2 separate regions of the Homo sapiens genome follow, and region 2 is linked to region 1. Evidence: promoter capture Hi-C in human tissues and cell types (Jung and others, 2019). All regions are on one chromosome and are shown on one strand. Each heading gives the region's core, a stretch centred on a gene start or on the middle of the fragment in contact. The rest is flanking DNA. Distances are from core to core; before and after follow the strand shown.

The links. Contacts are between HindIII fragments. The study calls those that stand out against the background at their distance.
Region 2: a contact is called between a fragment that was not itself captured here and the fragment with the promoter of AMOTL2 in region 1, in 1 of the 25 tissues and cell types used here (hippocampus).

What each region holds. Positions count from the first base shown.
Region 1 is chr3:134,372,835-134,375,928 of GRCh38, reverse strand. It overlaps AMOTL2 (angiomotin like 2), which reads left to right and starts at 1,482. Exons shown (of 10, transcript NM_016201.4): 1 at 1,482-1,587. RefSeq lists enhancers at 1-622, 623-1,422, 1,423-2,222. The HindIII fragment of the contact is 13,073 bases long and covers 1-3,094 here.
Region 2 is chr3:133,741,994-133,745,165 of GRCh38, reverse strand. It overlaps a transcript of TF not described here. Among named protein-coding and RNA genes, the nearest start is that of TF, 2.8 kb to the left of the region's middle. The HindIII fragment of the contact is 3,003 bases long and covers 1-2,923 here.

The DNA.
Region 1 (3,094 bases), core at 233-2,732:
TTATTAAAAATTAACAATGTCCCTGGCAATTAAGCTTGCAGAATTTCCTTGTCCTTGTTTCCCTCCAGTGAATTTGGGACTTGCAAACTCCATGCTGATGGGAGGACCCAGCCAGGGGTAGAAATCAGCCCTGACTCTCTGGGTGGACAGGGGCCTGACTGCCCCCACCTCACCCCAACTGACTTGTAGAGAGGGCTTGTGTGATGGGGAACGGGGACAGCATGTGTCAGAGCGAGCTTTCTGAAGAAGGGGTTTCCATCTAGCAGTGGAAGTGTCCTGGGGGCAGAGGAGAGGATTCCATGCAGGAGCCACAGAAGTGGGTACAGGGGAAAGCCCCTGGCTGGCAGGGGTGTAGGGGGAGGTAAAGAAGAGACTAAAGCAAGGACAGGGTAAGTGGAGAGAGGAGGGCTCCCAGTGTCTGCCCTGTCCATCTAGGGAGCCTGGATTCTGATAGCCAGGGAGGGGTTTTGAGAATGAGAAACCAAGCAGCCCAGTGGTTGATTACCTGGTTCTCACTGTGTGTGACTCTGGGCACGCTGCTTAAGCTCTCTGAGCCCTGGTGTCCTCATTTACAACACAGGGATGATAACAGAACTCCGTTGGAGGGTGCTTGGCAGGGCTGAATCGGATGACTGGGCGAAAAGCCAGCGGTGGCACACCTTGCACTCTGCGTAAAGGGGCGCCTATTATCACCTTGGGGAAGAACTGGACAGAGCGCCTGGCGGCGGGTGATTCAGTTGGGTAGGTGGGTCAAATTGACCGGATTTTCCAACCCAGATTCACACTTCCTGTCGAGACGGTCGTAAAATAGCTGGCGAAGGTGTTTGTAAACAAAAGTGCATTCAAAGGTTGCCGCTGGGGGTGAAAACAGCGGGGGTTAGGGGAAAGAGGCTCTGTGGCTGGAAGCATTCACTTAGCCCGGGGCACTGTCCCAGCCCAGAGGATATGGATGTCTTTGCAGTCCCTCCTCCCTTTCCCACCTCCCCCGGTACACACACACGCACACACACACACACACACACACACAGCCGGAGTCCCCTCCCGCAGCAACCCCAGGACACGCGTGGTACAGCCCTTGCTGTCGTCCCGTCGATGGGTTTAGGGATGAAGGGTGAGAGCGGGTCGGCGACTGGGAGTGGAGGCGATAATGGGCAGAGTTGGATTAAATTGTCTCCAGCAGCTCCGAAGGCAAAGCATGGGGCAGGGGCGGACACACCGCGGCCTGGAGGGCGCTGGGCGCGGAGGAACGGAGCTCGGGGGCCGGGCCGGCGCTCGGCCAGCAGCGCCGCCTCCCCGGAGGAAGGCGGGGGCCGGGAGGAGGGAGCGGGAGAAGGCGGAGGGCGGAGGAGGGCGGTGCGCTGAGAGGTTATTTGTGGTTCGCTTTGATCCCGAGGGGGAACCTGAAACTCTCACATTCCTGGCATAGCAGCCGCCTCCGGCGCGGGCCGACCCTGGGGCTGCGCGCTGGGGCGCGAACAGCCAGAGCGTCGGCGCCACGGCCGAGAACACATCTTCGCCGCCGAGCTGAGCTGGGCCGAGCCGGAGGTTGTGGTGTCTGACTGCGCTGGGCACCCTCGGGCCGCAGCGGTAAGGAAGGCCGCTCGGCGCTCGGGAGAGCGCGCGAGGCCACAGAAACGTGCCCCAGCCAAAGCTGGAGTCTCGGCGCAACCCGGCCTTTTCCGGGAGTCGGAGCCTCGAGGATCGAGCGTCCTCGGGGCGCAGTGCGCCCTTTCGAGGCAGCCGCAGTGCCTGGCAAGGGCCGCTCTGCCCAGGGAGCGCAGCGCGCTGGGCTTTGCGGGGCTCTAGAAACGCGCGGGTCTCTTGGGGCTGGGGGAGAGGGGAGAGGGCCGACTCCGGAGACAACAGCCACAGTGTTTCGGGTTGCAGGTCGGCGGGGGTGGGGGTGGCGGGGGACAGGGATGGAGGCGCCGCTTGGAGCTCAAGTTGCAGGGTCCTGCGGGCTGATTTGGTTAGGTGGGGGTTACAGGTGCCTTTGCCCCCAACTAGTCCAAGAATTCCTCTTTGTCTTCCTTGGAAAATCCTCTCTGGAGCCACGAATTGGCCCTCACTTAGAAAGAATGCAGCCTGCTGTCCAGCCCGGTGACGTCAGCGTTAGAGTATTTGGAAAACAAAGAGGGCTCGAGAGGGAGGGAGGCGGACCCGCGATGCTTAAAGACCTCTCCGGGCCTCGGGCTACCCTCACCGGCTCGCCCCAGGCGTACCAGCGGCCACCGGTGCTCCAGGTCCGCCCGGGCTCGTGGTGGGGCGGGAGCCCTGGCTGGGGTGCCAGAACCTCCTAGCTTGGAGACTGTCTTTGGTTCCTTAGGCGAGCAGGAGCCCAGGCCAAGGCTGGAGACGCGCGCTGGCTTAGAAAGGCGGCCTTCAGAGAGCGCAGCGGGCGAGTGCAGCAGAGGTTCGCGGCCGGGGGCGCGGAAGCAGGTTTTTGTAAAGGCCCAGGCGTTTGATGTCTGAAAGGACGTGAATCTGAGGGGCTTGGCCGGGACAAATTCGCGATGAGAGGCCTTGGAGATGTTCCTTGCTCCCAGTCCGGGCACACTATGGAGCGCCTGGAATCTGTCAGGAAGGCTCCGCATTCCTTCCTGCCGCTCCCCTGCCTTCTCTGTGGGAGTCGGCCCAGAGAGTGATTATCATAGGAAATGCCCGCAGATAAAACTCCAGGGCGAACTGAATCCCATACGAATTGAATCCCATTTGCTTGCTTTGCCTCGGGTAGCTCTGGAGTCTTGCACATCTACCCCTCGTTGTGTGTGGGGGGCGCATGACTGGGTGCCAGGAAGGATGGGTACAGAGGTGCCCTCCAGACTCATCCCCCACTCCCCAGCTCTGGGCAGCTGGAGTACTGGGGTGGGGAGAGGGAAAAGATCGGGAATGGCTGCTCTGCCAACATGCCATAGCCCAAACTGAAGCAGGACACTAGGGCTAGTTTAGTGGCAGAGGAGGGGCCACATTCCTCCCACCCACCCCCCCAACCCCTGCCCATACACACAGGACCTGTGGCAGTGTGGATTCTGTTTAGTTTTCCCTGGATCCCAGTTTGGAGATTTGTGTTGGAAGAGGCTGTGGAAAGGAAGCT
Region 2 (3,172 bases), core at 173-2,672, 630 kb after region 1:
TGTTGTCAGAATTGTCTCCTAATTCTAGTTTCTTTGTAAGAATCTTTTTAAGGCATGTGTGCATCTCGTGAAGGTTGGAGTTAAAGCCAGATTATCTAATCTGTACATCCGTTTAACTGGGCACATACAAACCACAAAGTATGGAAATAAAAATGCCAAAACAAAGGGCAGGGTCGGCACTCCCCTTTTCACCTTTAGCATTGTGAGGTGAACCCCATCTTCCCTTAGGACACCTGAAAGGCTCCATCTGTCATGACTGCAGACTCAGGTGGGAGATAGGGCCAATTCACACATTCAATATGAATGAATGATAATTTGTTAATCTTTTGCAATAACAATAAATATAACTGGAAGTTAGATTATGTTCTCCCACACTCCAAAAGATTATCTCATATGCAAAGGGGTTACATACCTCCCACTTTAGAGTCCACTACAGAAGCTTTCTGTTTACAGTGAGGACAGAAGTCAAGTCTGGCTTTCCCAACACATCAGCCTCACCAGCGAGGGAGAGTGACCACTGCTGCCCTGTCTTACTCCCCCCTTGCCCGTCCACGGGCCCCTTGTGCTTGAGCCATAGGGAAAGAAGACTGTTAGCATGAGGGCCATATTCCTACTGCCCCTGCAGCAGGCTCTAGGCAGTGGTCTGGATTCATTTGGAGACCTTGAGGTAAGGATGTGAGATGAGCAGGAAAAGTCAGGGGCAAGGCTAACTGGAAGGCACCCAGCAGAGCAGCATGCACACATACAGCTGATGCATGGACAGGCCCTGTAGTAAGCTTGCAGGGTCTGCCAGAGAGCAGGAAGTGCAGTTACGAAAGGTTGAGCCCATGCCACAAACTCAGGGAAGCTCAACGCAGGGCATGGAAAGAAGATGGTCAGTGATTCTCCTTTTCTGGAGCCCATCTACATTCGTAGACTAAGCCCCGCTGAGGCCAGTCCTCCAGCCACAGGCCCATAGCCTAGCCAGAGCCCCTCAGCAGGGAGCAACTACCTACTGGCCAGGCTGAGTCCTCTCCAGAGCAGCCAGCTCTATGCCCTGTCCTCAGAAGGGTCCTTTGAGTCCAAGCCCAAGACAGGTGCTGGGAAGGAAATATACAGCCTCATGGGATATGAAGGAAGCTCAGACAAGACATAGAGAACTGGTGCTCCCACGTCATCTACACACACCTAGATGGAGAGGCCAGGGCCTTGGCTTTTGCTCAAGAGGACAACAGCAGAGCTTCGTGCTTGCCATTCCTTGGATGGGGTAGGCAGGGGTGAGGCCAGCTTTGGGGTGTACATGTGTGCATGGCCCTAGCTGTATGGGGTGCCTATGCCTGTATATGTCTATAGGAGCATGTGAAGGTAAGAGGTTAACATTACAGCGCTCCATGTCCATGACACTTGTACCTGTGCTCTCATTTATATTCTTTAATTCTATACCAGAGATGTTCTGGAGTTGGAGAATCACTGTCCCTTTTAATAGCTTAATGATGGCTGAGATTTACTGGGAGCTTCACTGAGCACTTACCATACCCCTCTGACTTTGGTGCTTTAGCATCTGTATCTTACAGATGAGACAAGGAAACTGAGGACAAGAGAGGATGATATCTTGTTCAAGGTCAGCTGCAAAGTCAGAATACAAAAGAAGGCAGTCTGGTTCCAGAGTGTACACATCCACCAGGGACACTGCCTCTCCCAGGAAACCAGGACATGCAGGGGCCAAGGAGCTCATCTGGGGTCACACCGAGAGAGGGACAGACATGAGACTCCCAGCCTTGCCATTTCTCCAAAAGCACACAGCCCCCAGGGCTTTGCCAGCACAGGGGCTGGTCAGTCTGGGAGAGGTCTGAGTACCAACTGCAGATCCTTAGACATGGACTGGCTTGATTATGCTCAGCTGGAAGAAAATATCATGTTTTTATCCCCTTGTATGTGTCAGGCACTGTCCTGGGGCAAGATCATTGGGGCAGCCATGCAAGATAAGATCAGTACCTCCATTTATCACATGTGGTCATTACAGTCAAATGATGGGTCCTTATTCATGGAGCTCTGAGACCTGAACTCAAACTTCCTAAATCTTGCCCTTCTCCAGACCACAGCTGCCTTCTTGATATTGACCTTCTCTTTATTTATTTAGTGGGGGAGGAAAGAGAGGGAGGGAGGTGAGAGAGAAAGAGAAAGAGAAAGAGATTGATAGAGGACATAAAGGAAGCTTCCAGTTCTAGACCAACCCAAGCATGAGCCAAATCTTTCACCGCAAACAGGGCAAAACTCTCAAATTTCAACCACGAGTTGGCCCTTAAAGAAATAGCTGCGCTTGTGTGTACGTGCAGGAAAGCTGGAAAAGCTGACCAGCAGGAGGTGGGTAAGAAAGCAGTGGGCCTCTGAACCAATATTTGTTGTTTCCAAATGTTGCCCAGTTGACACAGAAGCAAAGCAAACAAAGAGCCTCTGTCTGTTTTGAGCAGTTCCTCCTGTCCCCCACCCAGTGTCCTCTGCCTGACACCAGAGACTTCTCTAAGTCTGGGTCATCCTTGAGAAGCAGCAGCCTGGCAGCCTGAGAACCGACATTCACGAAATCAGTCACCCTGCAAGCCCGCTGGGTCGGGCTGTATGGCTAGGGGGTTGGGGACTGGGCAGGGTACTTTTAGGAAAATGCCAGGCATTTTGAAATGCCACATGACACCACTGCTCACTCGCTCTCACTCTCTCTCTCTTTCTCTCTCTCTCTCTCCTTCTCTTTCCCTTTCTCTATCTCTGTTCTACCTCTCAGAAGTCCTTGGACAATGAAGATTCTCAAGGTTTCCATTCTTTTCACAGGGGAGTCTGCAAAAATACCTGTCTCATGAAGAATAGTCCAGGGCCAGGTGGAATGAATTCCATCAAACATTTAAGAATTACAGCGTGGGGGTGGTGGCTCATGCCTGTAATCCTAGGGCTTTGGAAGCCTGAGGCAGGAGGATTGCTTGAGCTCACGAGTTCAAGACCAGCCTGGGCAATATAGTGAGAACTCGTCTCTACAAAAAATTTAAATCAGCTGGACACAGTGGCATGCACCTGTAGTGCCAGCTACCCAAGAGGCTAAGGTAAGAGGATTGCTTGAGCCCAGGAGTTCAAGGCTGCAGTGAACCAAGATCACAACACTGCATTCCAGCCTGGGCAACAAAGTGAGACCCTGTCTCTAAATAAA